3 separate regions of the Homo sapiens genome follow, and all the other regions are linked to region 1. The links are contacts of gene promoters, found by promoter capture Hi-C in human tissues and cell types (Jung and others, 2019). All regions are on one chromosome and are shown on one strand. The core of a region is centred on a gene start or on the middle of the fragment in contact, and the rest is flanking DNA. Distances in the headings are between cores, read along the strand shown.

Region 1 (4,272 bases), core at 589-3,088:
ACGGTTGTTGGGGCCAGGGTAGTGCCGGGACTAGGGGATGTTCCTGCAGGTGGGGCCCCCTTCCCCTTGGTGTCAGGCCCTGGGTTCACCGCCACTGTGGCCGAGGCCGAGGCCTTTGCAGCCTGAGACATGGTTCCCGCCTGCAAAAGTCTGTAAAGAAACTCTGGCCTTCAGGGATGACACCCCCAAACTGCCTCCTGCCCTCATAGCCCCACATCCTGTGCTTTCAGCCTCCTTGGAGCTCGTTTCCTCTCTATCTCCTTCTGAAACGGTTAAGCCTGGAAGTTTTTCTTTCATCCCTACTTCCCAGCCAAGACCTTCCCGTCTGGGGGCCACTCATCCCACATATATCCTTCCTCCAGGCTTTTGACCATGCGGTTCCCTCCACTAGCTGTTCCACCCTCCATTACCCCGCTAGGTCCTTCCTTAGCCCCCTGCAATTTTCCACACTGCTTATCACACTGATTTGCTTGTGCAACTCCAATTTGCCTCCCTAGACTAATAACAAGAAGTCCCATTTGGGAGTACTTAAGGTGTGCCAGGCACTGTGACATACATTAATTAACCCATCTGACCATGAACCTCACCCGATGGAGTAGCTGCTATCATGATCCCCTCTGAGCAGCAGGGGGCTGGAGAAGGAAGGGGCCCAGCTCAGGCCCAAACAGCTACTAAGTGGTAGGGCTCTGATTTCAACTCAAGGAAATGGAGCCAGCAACTGGGCTTTTAAAGTATTCTGCCATTTGCTTAATCTGATTTATTCACCGTCCATCCCTAACACTTGCTCTGCACCTGGCACATAGGAGATGCCCAATTAACATTTGTTCAGAGAATGAATGAATGCATGCTCCCAGCTCCTTTCCCCGTCTGCTTCCTCTGAGGGGTTGGTGTATGGGTGCAAATACAGGCCGGGGACTGAGGCTTATGGGAGGACCCAAGAGGATGTATTTACTGCATGTGGAGGGTTCTGAAAATGAGGACTGGGGCTGGGTAGGCTTTGGGTGGAGAGGGCTTTGGTCAATTCCAGTGGTTCCTTGTTGCTTTGGGGTCGTGGACTCCTTTGAATGTTTGATGAATACCTCAACTTTGTCCCCGGACAAAAATAATGCTCTCTTTAACTTTGGAGACAATGTTAAGGGATTTGAGGACCCCCTGCTAGCACAGATTAAGACCCTCTGGTCAAGCTGATTCCCGAACACATTCTGTAAGGCGGAGCTAGTTGGGATAAGCACATCCCTCCCCCAGCCTCCTCCAGGAAGGCTGTGCATATTCTGGGGTGCCCCCTGTTCACCAGGGGTGAGGCCAGACATCTGGACCACATCTGTGGCTTTAAACACTCCCCCAGGGCTGGCAGCTGGACTCATGCCTTCCTGGAGATATTCTCATTCTCTCTCTCTCCCTGCTTCACCCTCTCCCTCTGTTCCTCCTCTCTTCCCTGTCTTTGCCTCTCTATCTGTTTCTTACTTCTCTCCCTCTTTCTGCCTATCTGCCTGTCTGTTTCTCTCCCTCTCTGTTCCTCTCTCCCCCACTATCTCTCCCTCATTGTATCTTTGCTTATCTCTCTATCTGTCCTTTTTAATTATATTTACTTCTCTCTCTATTTCTGTCTTTTCTCACTCTCTCCCCTCTCCCTCTCCCTCCCTTTCTTCCTCTCTCCACTTCCGTCTTTATCTCCATGGCCCTGCTCTCTGACTCTCATGGCACTGCTATCTCTGCCTCCCTCTCTCTGTCTCCCTTTTCTCTTCCCCTCCCCTTCAGCTCTCAGCTGGGCTGTGGGTTCCCTCTTACCTGGGGACTTGCTACTTCCTGCTGGAGGACAGGCAGGCGGGCAGGTGCTATGGGTGACTAGAGTCCGACCCCCCATTTTATAGTCTGGCAGACATCAGGCCCTATAGTCTGTGGCACAAAGGGGAAGCTGGCTCAGCAGGCCTGGGCAGGGAGTGGGGGACTGGGGCCCTGACCTCGCCTGGATCACTGCAGACAGCAGCACTTTCCTTTGTGAGACCAGCACACACAGCAGAAACCCTGGCCACAGCAGCTTCACCTTCCAACCCTACCCTGACTCCTTTCTCAACAACCCCAGCCAGGGATGGGCCCCCAAAAGGGTCCCTGCTGGCTGCCAACATGGGGCAGGGAAAAGGGGAGACCCTGGGAGGCAGGAGACCAGAGTTTGAATCCTGACTCAGCCACTGCGCGCTGTGTGGCTTTTGGTAGGTCTCTACCCCTAGGGGGGCCTCTGTGTCTGCAATTATAAGGTGGGCACGTGTCCCTGTTGGATGCCATATAGAAAAGAAGGTGACAATGAGCACAGAAGCGTTTTGTAAAGGCAGATGTGGGTTTGATATGGACAGCCTTTTTTACGGAGTGCTTACTGTGTGCCGAACCCGTGTTATCTCGGTCAGTCCCCGGGACAATCTGCCTTATTTGGTACTTTCATTATGCCCATTTCACAGAAGAGGAAAGTGAAGGCACAGAGAGGTCAGAGCCAGCCCAGGCCAGCCAGCTCTGGGCCTGTGTGCTTTCTTCTCCTGCTGTCCAGCCTTGACCTTGGCCTGAGGCCCCCTGGCCTGACTTCCTCTTTGTAGGTTGGGGTGGGAATGGGAGAGTCGCACTGTGCTCAGCTGGGTTGGATATCGGAGACCTGGGTCTTTTTCTTTTCCCCACATTGGGCCCCATCCTTTCCTGACCTATCGACAGTGATCCCTCTCGCCACCCCAGTTCCCCGCCTCTACCCAGGCCACGTTATCTGACCTGGAGGACAGTGCTGGTGGCCAGAAATATGACTGCCTGTCCCAGAGCCTCCTGCCCTGGCAAGCCCCAGATGCCCACCACATCTTGTTCACCACTGGCCCCAGCACCTAGCTGGGCCTGGCTAGGTAGAGCTTGGCACATCATGGGTTCTCAGTCAATAACTGGTGACTCAATGGTGGTTCCAATGGATCGGAACAGAAGGTAGGGTACGGAGGAGATAGGGAAACCAAGGCAAGGAGAGAGAAGTAAGGAGGCAGATAGAAGTAACAGACAAAGAGAGAGGTGGAGACAGAGACACAGAGAGGCACAGGGGACATGGACAGTGAAGGAGCGAGAGACGGAGAGACAGAGGTCAAGTTGGGGTGATCAAGCCTCAGGACGGAGGAACAGACGCCAGAAATCACAGGGCCCAATCCTCCCATTTCACAAATGGAGAAACCGAGGCCCAGGTGGAACAAATGACTTCAACATAGTCACATGGCGGGAACTCACAGTACAGCTGGGGTCAGAAGGAGCCTGGGGAGCTGCTCAGCTAGGTCACCTGCAGTCGGCTCCCCAGTCCCAGGCAGGGTATATTGCGGGGGCATCTGGATAGGCTCCTGTCTCTTCTTTTTCGGGGTTCTAGGCTCCCCGTGGAGCCCAGCTCTGTCTTGAACTCTCCCTGGCCTGGAGCCAGCTTTGCCTCTGTCCCTCCACCACCCAGCACCCCCTCGCTTCCTAGCCTCTCCTTGGCCTTTCATCCTGGGCCAAGACTTGGTGGGTGGGGTGTGGGCAGGAACTGCAAGATGGGGTAGCCACTGGAACTGGGGCCAAGACGCCTGTGGTGAGGGCCCACCCACCAGTCTAGGCTTCAAAGCCAGGTCATCTGGGGCAGTTCCGTGCCCCCCCTAAAGCCCCAGGAATGGGCTGTCTGCCAGAGGGTGGGGGCAGAGAAGGGGGATGGCCCACCATGTTGGTGGCTCCACTCTGAGCATTTATTATTATTATTGTATCCTTCATTATATCTTTTTCTTTTTTGCCCTGTCTTATGGAGCCAATTTATTTTCTTTTCTTTTTTTCTTTTCTTTTTTTTTTTTTGCATTGTCCTGTACTCCTCAGTATAAGGATGAAGTCTCTGGGATTAACCCCAATTACGGATAAGGAAACTGAAGCAACTCCCTTTCCTTCCTCTCTCTCAGCCACTTTCTCATAAAAATGGAAATGTAAGATAAAATTGGAACTCACATCTTCTTTACTCATGAACCCAGGCTCTTAAAAACTATGCACCCCTGCTTTTTGATCAACAATTAATAATAATCATCTTTCTTATTAGCAATGGTGATGATGAAGATGATGGAAATACCACAATATTTTTTATGTTGCAGGAGCAATTCCAGCTGCTGTTCATGTGCTATTCACATTTATCCTCACAATCCCCCTGTTTCTTAGACTAATCCCAACTTACCTTGTTACACCCATTTTACACACAAGTAAACTGAGGCTCAGAGTGCGTAAGTAACATGCTTAAAAGTTACCCAGCCA
Region 2 (4,272 bases), core at 634-3,133, 1.3 Mb after region 1:
CCTGGAATGAATGTGCATCAGAAAACAGAAACTGCTGAGTCCCACCCCTAGAGATTCTGGTTCGGTAGTTCTTGGGTGAGGTCAGAGTATTTGCATTTCAAACAAGTCCTCAGATACTGTGCTGCTGCTGGCCCATCCAAAGACCACACTTTTGAGAACTCCTAGACCAAGGGCATCAACCTATACAACAGGACTTCCCAAGTTCCACGACAAACCTTACCAAAAGTTAATGATTACATTTTTTTAAGTCCTAACTCAAAGATGTTCTTGAATCTTAAAGAGATAAATGTGAACCAACTTATATAAGTCAACAGCTTTTCAACATTTTTGTAAGTTATTCAAGTACTTTATCCCTCCTGCCTTTTGGCCATTTCTCTAACATGAGCCCATACCCTTGCAAAGCAGACAAGAGGTAAAAATTAAAGCAATCAATCCTGCTATGCAGAGCAGCTCTGACAAACACTCAGATATAAAAGCAATCTAATTAGCAAAACTAATGGCTAAAATTGGGCTGGGGATTATCTGTGAATTTTGTTTATTCATGCTCTCCTTGTCTCGGATAAAGAGAGTTGCTGATCAAAACAGCAACTTTACCAAAGTGTCAAGGCAAGCGGACTGATAGGGAAAGCCTATTTGGTTTCTGGCTGCTTGCCCGCCTCATCTCAATTTGACACAGCTTGGTGCGGTCAGATACACAGGTGACATTACTTTGATGATGACAAAGTGAACTACATATAGAATTCTCGTTTCCAGGGACTTTTGTACTAAAAGTGCAGAGTTGAAACTTACATTTTCTAATGTTCCCAAGTCTGGTTTGTGCCATGTTTCGATTTTAATGAAGAAATCATCTTTCATATATTCATTCTGCAGAAAACACAACAGGAAAATGACAGTGATCTTCTACCTGTTCCTTGGTGCCCACGTCTGAGGGAGCTTTTCCCAGTATAGGCATCCATGCTTTGACTCTACAAGGAGACTGATACTCAAGTGACAAAGAATCATTGGCTACCGATTTTTATAGACTTGTCAGGCAAACCAAATGCTACATGCTTTTAAATAATTTAAACAATTCTACTTGCCACGTGGCATATCGGGCTAATAAAGAAGCTGTGAGGTCTGATAAACAAATATGGCGTTTGAAGGGAGTAACAAAAGCAAAATAAAATCAATAGGGAGATTTTGAGACAAGGGTGGAAAGGGCCCATGAACACTGGGAACATGTGGTAGAGTGTGGCGGCTGGTTGGTGGGACACAGGAAGGAACCATGCAGCGAGGTGCAGTTAGCAAAGAATGGTTGAAAATAATTACTGTGTAAAACAAAGTTTAAAGATAAAGAAAGTATGAGACACAAAAATAGTTTTACTCACCGTTACAACTGAGGCATAATGGAGAGGTAGGTAATGAAAGGAGAAAAATTTCAGAATATTAATTGGAGTCAAAACAATCTGTCCCAATACTTAATGTCACAAAGACTAAACTATCTGAAAACAGAACATTTATTTAGTAATTTATGTCTGCAAAACAGTTTCCACACAAGTGACACTATACAGTACATTAGATTATGGAGTACAAATAAAATATGAACAATAATCTAATTTTAAAAATAATGCTAAAAAGAATAATAATGTCACAAAAGCAAAACATTATTTATAAGGTCAATTTAGCAAATGATAGGATGCTGTTTCAGAAGTCTGTCCTATTCCTCCTCTATTATGTAGCAATTTAAGTAAAATACTGTTGAAACACACCAAAACACCCTTCTGAGTGTAAACGACCTTTCTTTTGGCTTACCCCTGGAGCCAGCATAGTCAGCTAGGACCCCAAAGTGGCTGCCATGTGGGAATGAACTTATGCCTGTCACAAAGTTCTAGGGGGAGGAACCCAATGCAGCCCTTCCTCTGCCATCATTCTAGCAGTGACTATCCAAGAACCCAAGGAAGACCTTGCTCAGTGTAAACCTTCTCAAAGACACTGGTACTGGGAATCCCTCTCATTCTCAGGGTGGAGGGGTGCAATGGCTGCTGGGGGCCAAGCTTACTTGTTCTACAGTAGGGGTACGCATTCCAGGCTTTCTCATGAAACACCAAGGAGCCCTCGGGAGCAATCATCCTCACGAATGCAGGCACTTTGCTGGGAGAAGAGAGATACTGGATATATTTAACAGCACCATCAATTCTTTCTTGGTATCTATCCAACTGCTTGAAAGAGTATGGCAATCAAAGGTGACCAGGTTCTAAGTCTGATGAACTAGTTTATTTCAATCCTAAAGTAATCCAGTAGAAATGAACACATAATTTTTTACATTTTAAATAAAAATGATTAAGAATATTTAGCTGGGTATGGTGGCTCATGCCTGTAATCCTAGCATTTTGAGAGGCTGAGGCAGGAGGATCACTTGAGCCCAGGAGTTTGAGACTAGCCTGGACAACATGGTGAAACCCTGTCTCTACAAAAAATATAAAACTAGCCAGGCATGGTGGCACATGCCTGTAGCCCCAACTATTCAGGAGGCTCAGGTGGGAGGATCACTTGAACCTGGGAGATAGAGGTTGCAGCAAGCTGAGATCACACCACTGCACTCTAGCCTGGGCAAAAGAGCAAGACCTTGTCTCACAAGGAAAAAAAAAATTAACTGTATAAAAGGTTTTGTGTGTGTGTGTGTGGTTTTTTTTTTTTTAAATAGAAGCAATTATTTCTTAAGAACTTCTGATCTACTACCCCAATGTAAAACCTAAGAGTTAACAGCTATTCAATCTGCACATTAATACAATGTAGTTCTTAAGAGTTAGATGACATTATACTGTTTCTTAATGCAAAAAGCCCCAGAATAAGGAGATATCTCTGAATAAAAGTCTGAATACATTTTATAGAACAGACCTGAAGAAAAATGACAATGTAAAGGACCCATGCAGAAAATGAGAAATTAAAGCATATCCAAGTATAAAATTTTGTAGGTATGGGAGATGAATGTCACTTGCTGCCTTAAGTATATTCAGAGGAAGAGAAAGGTTCAATACATGATTAATATATGAGAAGCTTGTGCAAGCATATGATAATCAGAAACAATCCCAACATATAAAGGGGCAAAAGTCATCCACAGGCCCATTACAAATAGAAAATGTTATTTGTTAACAAACAAATGGGAAAATCAGTCTTAACAGTCTTCAAATAAATGCAAATGAAGTGACTGATATAGTGACTGGAGCCTACTGTAAAGAGTAGTTTTGCTTGCACAGACTTTTCACACAGATCGAATTCAAATCCCAACATCACCATTTGGAAGCTGTGTGACCTTAGGCCTGCTACTTGGCTTCTCTGAAATTCCTCATGTGTTGAATGGAATTCCTATTACCTGCTCTGCAGGGTTATTAAGAGAATTAAATCAAATACTGGAATGTGTTTAGCACATTGCACAGTACAATGAGCTCAAAAAATGGTAGTTACTGCTTTTTAATTATAAGTTGATACGGAGCTGGGTATTTTCATATGCCTTTCTTCATTTAAATCTTCCTTAATGTCTTCACATCCTTAAAAATGAAAGGAGCTAATTCTTTGTTCACTTATTTCTTTTTTCTTTTTTGAGACGGAGTCTCACTCTGTTGCCCAGGCTGAAGTGCAGTGGCAGGATCTCGGCTCACTGCAAGCTCCACTTTGGGTTCACGCCATTCTCCTGCCTCAGGCTCCCGAATAGCTGGGGGTACAGGCGCCCGCCACTAGGCCCGGCTAATTTTTTTGTATTTTTAGTAGAGACAGGGTTTCACCGTGTTAGCCAGGGTGGTCTTCATCTCCTGACCTCGTGATCCGCCCGCCTTGGCCTCCCAAAGTGCTGGTATTACAGGCGTGAGCCACCGCGCCCGGCCTGATCACTTCTTTTCAAATGGTGGAACAATTCATTCAAACTTCAGAAACACCAAGCCAGGATAACTGAAAATAACATCACTTTAAAAGTCAAAGAGTATCTAGCTGTCCAAAAAATTTATCCCATTGCTAAAGAACTAGAACCAAAATCCCTTTAAGTGTGGGTGAGGTCTAATCAGGGTACAATGGAACACATGAGGATAATTTTTTAAGCCAAGCTACAAGACTACCTATTCATCTGAGAGTATGACAAACAGATCTATCAATGGTTCAGCTGGTCAACTTAGAAAAAGCAGGAGAGGCCAGGCGTGGTGGCTCACGCCTCTAATCCCAGCACTTTGGGAGGCAGAGGTGGGTGGATCACCTGAGGTCAGGAGTTCGAGACCAGCCTGGCCAACATGGCAAAACCCATCT
Region 3 (4,272 bases), core at 526-3,025, 1.3 Mb after region 1:
GGAGATGTGGAAATCAAGGCTCAGAGTGAGGGTTAAGTTATAACTTGTGTAGATTCCCAGTGGCTTTTTAATGGATCTCCCTTAGTGCCTCCGACACTTACAGATTCCCTGACCATTGAAAACGTACCACTAGTGTAACAGAAATTATCAAATTCTGGCAAATACCATGAATAGGGCATCACACAATTGCCAATGATGCAACAGGGCATAAAAGGTACAGAACGGTGATCTAGGAGTCACTGGATTAAGAGTTAAAATCTGCTACATCTCCATACCTTACACACTGCTGTAACTACCACCGAATCAGGTGTTCCAGAAATGGCAGACATTCTGCTGTTTCTCCTACAACTATTACATGTGTTTCTCTGCCCAAGTTTCTCAACTATATAAAATAAAGCAGCTGAACTTACACCACAGGAAGGTTGTAAAGATTAAATGTAACCTTGTATAGTACCTGGTACCAAGGAAAAGTTTCTTTACCCCTAGTCAGTCTGGTGCAGACAGGAAGTAAATACTGCAATAATTCAGAGGGAAAATACCACCATCAGACAAGTAAGGAAAAGTTTCAAAGAAATCATAGGATTTGCATTTAGCTTTGAATAGACTTTGGAATCTGTACTGGTAAGGCAGGTTTCTGCTGAAGGGTATGTGTGGGATGGTTCACAGAGGCCTTTTGAGAGAGAGACTGTGGAACTACCAGGCAGCTCTTCTATAAGAACATTCTTCAACACTACCCTGGTTAAGTGGGTCCACAATAAGATTTCTTCTTCCTTTCAGCCATAATTATCATGTTTGTTCCCTATTTCTTCCTTGCATTTCAGAAGTATAAAAATTTCCAACTATTATCGTTCCCCAGTGCTACCCTCAGTGCCTCCACCAGGACAGTAATTGGCAAAGAGGGCCTGCTGAACATGTTTACAGAAGACACTGGTAAGATCAAGTCCAAAGGTTCCTATTTTCCTGTATGCCATATTATCAGCTATCTTCTTACGCTTTATTTCCCTCCACAGCAGCAAGTGGATGGCTTAATTATTATCAGTTATTCTTGACTGCACTAGTTATTTCTGAGATCACAGTAATTCACAGAAATTCAGTCAGGCAGTAGCTGAATTTATAAGAGTAGCTGGATACACCATCATCTGGATAAAATGAACAATCAACAGGCAAATGGGCAGAAACAACCAGCACCCTATCAGCCTAATAAGTTACTGTTTAACACAGGGGGGAAAATGGAAAAAAACTGCAGTTCTGCAATCTGCAGAAATACAAAATTCACATTATTTCTAAGAACTAAACCTATTCTAGAATTTCAATCATTAGTCAATAATAAAAGACAAAGCAATATCAGTTACAAATCAGGCCAGACATGGTATATATTCCAAGTTCCTAAAAAGTTAGAAATCAGTACAAGTCATAGTATCAAACTACTTTTGCTGCCTGTTATAAAATCAGGAGTTCCTATAGGAAGGATCTGAGCCCAAACATAAAGCCCACCACATAATGTAGCATTGTCTTTTAATGTTTATACTTGAAAAGCTAATAATTTCAAGAAAATACAATATTTAATTCACCTCTGGGTCTCAACCTCATGCCCCTTTACTCCCTGTAAAAGTATTGTCAGCTAGAGCTACTACTCACTGGAACAAGATGTACTTTTTTAGAAGTTACAGCACCAGTGGAGGTAGCCACCATCTGGGCTGCTCTCTGGCATGGTGTCCTTGTTTAGAAGACCAGTGTGAAATCTCAAAGGGCTTCTCCTCCAACTAAGATTGAGTTCTAAAGTCTGAAGCTAGAAATCTGGAAAAGGCTGGGGACACTAAATCCATTAAAGCAAATTTACATCAAGCAGGCTGAATTTGTTAATTTATAAGTGGTATATATCACTTTCTGGGTAATATAGATTGGGAATTTGTCCCTGCTCAAATCTCATGCTGAAATGTAATCCCCAATGTTGAAATGCAATCCCTAATGTTAGAGGTAAAGCCTCTAACAGGTGTTTGCATCATGACTGCAGATCCTTCATGAATAGCTTGGGCCATCCCCTTGGTGATAAGTGAGCTCTCACTCTGAGTTCACACGAGATCTGGCTGTATAAAAGTGCATGGCACACTTCCCCTGCCCCACTTCCACCATGTGAGACGCCTGCTTCTCCTTTGCCTACCATGACTGTAAGCTTTCTGAAGCCTCCCCAAAAGCAGATACCAGCACTATGCTTCCTATACAGTGTGCAGAACCGTGAGCCAATTAAGCCTGGTTTTTTTTTTTTTTTTTTTTTTTTTTTTTTGGGACGGAGTCTCACTCTGTCGCCCAGGTTGGAGTGCAATGGTGCAATCTTAGCTCACTGCAACCTCTACCTCCCGGGTTCAAGTGATTCTCCTGCCTCAGCCTCCTGAGTAGCTGGGATTACACGCAAGCACCATCGTGCCCAGCTAATTTTTGGATTTTTAGTAGAGATGGGGTTTCAACATGTTGCCCAGGCTGGTATTGAACTCCTGACCTCAAGTGATCCACCCACCTCAGCCTCCCAAAGTACTGGGATTACAGGCGTGAGCCACTGCACCTGGCCCAAGCCTCTTTATATATAATACCCATTCTCAGGTTCTTTGTAATAATGCAAGATTGGCCTAACATGCTAAGTATTAAAACTGGGAGAATTCTGAACTAAACTCTACCCAGAGAACAAATGTGAAAATAATATAGTTATGAATCATTTCTTATAAACCAAAGTCAAATTCATTTTTCCTTTTAGTTGATGCACAAGACAGTCCACAAAACAGTCTAACACCCAGGGAGAACCACTCAATGAGTTCTCTGTGGGGCTGTAACAGTAATCCTCTTATCTGCATGCAACTAGTACCTAGACATCACTTATCGATGACCTGTAACTGGCTTCAGCACAGACAGACTGGTTACCAAGTAAGACCCTGGGAGTGGAAAATCTGCTCTGGGCATGTTTAAGTTTTTATGCTCTTCTCTTGTCAAATTAGCTGTAGTAACTTGCCAATAACACATTAAGACTTCTTTAAGGATCTGTCATTTAGTTTAGTAGATGTCTTTAAAATGCATTATATTTCTATAGCAATTTAAATTATTACCTTGACATTACCTTACTTCCATGAATAAAGTAAGGGTGTGCACTTTATTTAAAAACAACTACTGGCTGGGCGCAGTGGCTCATGCCTGTAATCCCAACACTTTGGGAGGCCAGGGCGGGTGGATCACCTGAGGTCGGGAGTTCGAGACCAGCCTGACCAACATGGAGAAACCCCGTCTCCACTAAAAATACAAAATTAGCCAGGCATGGTGGCGCATGCCTGTAATCCCAGTTACCCGGGAGGCTGAGGCAGGACAATCACTTCAACCCAGGAGGCAGAGGCTGCAGTGAGCCCAGATTGCACCACTGCACCCCAGCCTGGGCAACAAGAGTGAAACTCTGTCTCAAAAACAAAACAAAAACAAAAACTGCTTGCCACAAAAATTGCTCACTCGTGTCCTGCTTTCCAAAAATATAACTATTAAAAGTCCAGGAATATGAGCTTGGGTGAAGGGAGCTTGTTCAGTTTTTAATAAGACTAAATTTAAACTATAAACCTTCATTTAAAATGGATTTTTATACTGCTTCAGGTCTCAAAAGAGAACATTAGAATCCCCAAAGACTAAATCACTTGTCTCTTTTAAGAGTTATTGGAGCTGCATTATGCTGAAAGTGACAGTCTGGCTCTGTTCTGTTTGTTAATGCAGCACAGATTTGCTGGCCAACTGCAACTGGCTGTAAGTCCTTATCGCAAATAAAACTATTTTTGTGCCATTTCTATTTTTCACTTAAACGTCACCAGCTCTTCAAGACTCAGGACCTGTCAAGTGTTCTGTTGCCAAGACTCTGCCTGTCAGAAAGGTCAGCATCCAGTACCTTCCAGTTGGGTCCCAAAGGGCCTCTCTTGGTCTTGACTGACTGGAATAATGCTGGGTCTTCATCAGCTTTGTAGTCCTGCAAAGCAAAACAAAGTCAGAGGCAGAGAAGAAAACCAGAGAATATTCTTTAACCGTGCCAGAATAGCTCTTCGCAGCTACCAAAACACAGGACAGAAATCAATTAGACTCACTGTGCTTTTGCGTAAAAGTAGAAAAATGCTTCTTTAAGACACTGTTTTCAGTTTGGTTTCCTTTGCTTTAAACTTTTACCTTGGGCTAAATAACTACATAATAAGAAATAATAAAAGTCCTGGACTAGCAATCCATTCTGACTGGTTACTGGACAGCTGTCTCCAATAA

Evidence for each region. Contacts are between HindIII fragments. The study calls those that stand out against the background at their distance.
Region 2: a fragment that was not itself captured here is called in contact with the fragment with the promoter of CRYBB1 in region 1 in 1 of the 25 tissues and cell types used here (lymphoblastoid cells).
Region 3: a fragment that was not itself captured here is called in contact with the fragment with the promoter of CRYBB1 in region 1 in 1 of the 25 tissues and cell types used here (lymphoblastoid cells).

Annotation. Positions count from the first base shown.
Region 1 is chr22:26,616,189-26,620,460 of GRCh38, forward strand. It overlaps CRYBB1 (crystallin beta B1), which reads right to left and starts at 1,839. Exons shown (of 6, transcript NM_001887.4): 1 at 1,789-1,839; 2 at 1-150. The coding sequence starts at 131. It also overlaps a transcript of CRYBA4 not described here. RefSeq lists enhancers at 893-1,570, 2,249-2,924. The HindIII fragment of the contact is 18,434 bases long and covers 1-4,272 here.
Region 2 is chr22:27,895,763-27,900,034 of GRCh38, forward strand. PITPNB (phosphatidylinositol transfer protein beta) reads right to left here. Exons shown (of 12, transcript NM_012399.5): 4 at 2,039-2,130; 5 at 1,368-1,375; 6 at 790-864. Among named protein-coding and RNA genes, the nearest start is that of PITPNB, 21 kb to the right of the region's middle. RefSeq lists an enhancer at 165-214. The HindIII fragment of the contact is 4,356 bases long and covers 1-4,061 here.
Region 3 is chr22:27,869,828-27,874,099 of GRCh38, forward strand. It overlaps PITPNB (phosphatidylinositol transfer protein beta), which reads right to left. Exons shown (of 12, transcript NM_012399.5): 8 at 3,911-3,988. Among named protein-coding and RNA genes, the nearest start is that of PITPNB, 47 kb to the right of the region's middle. The HindIII fragment of the contact is 6,796 bases long and covers 1-4,272 here.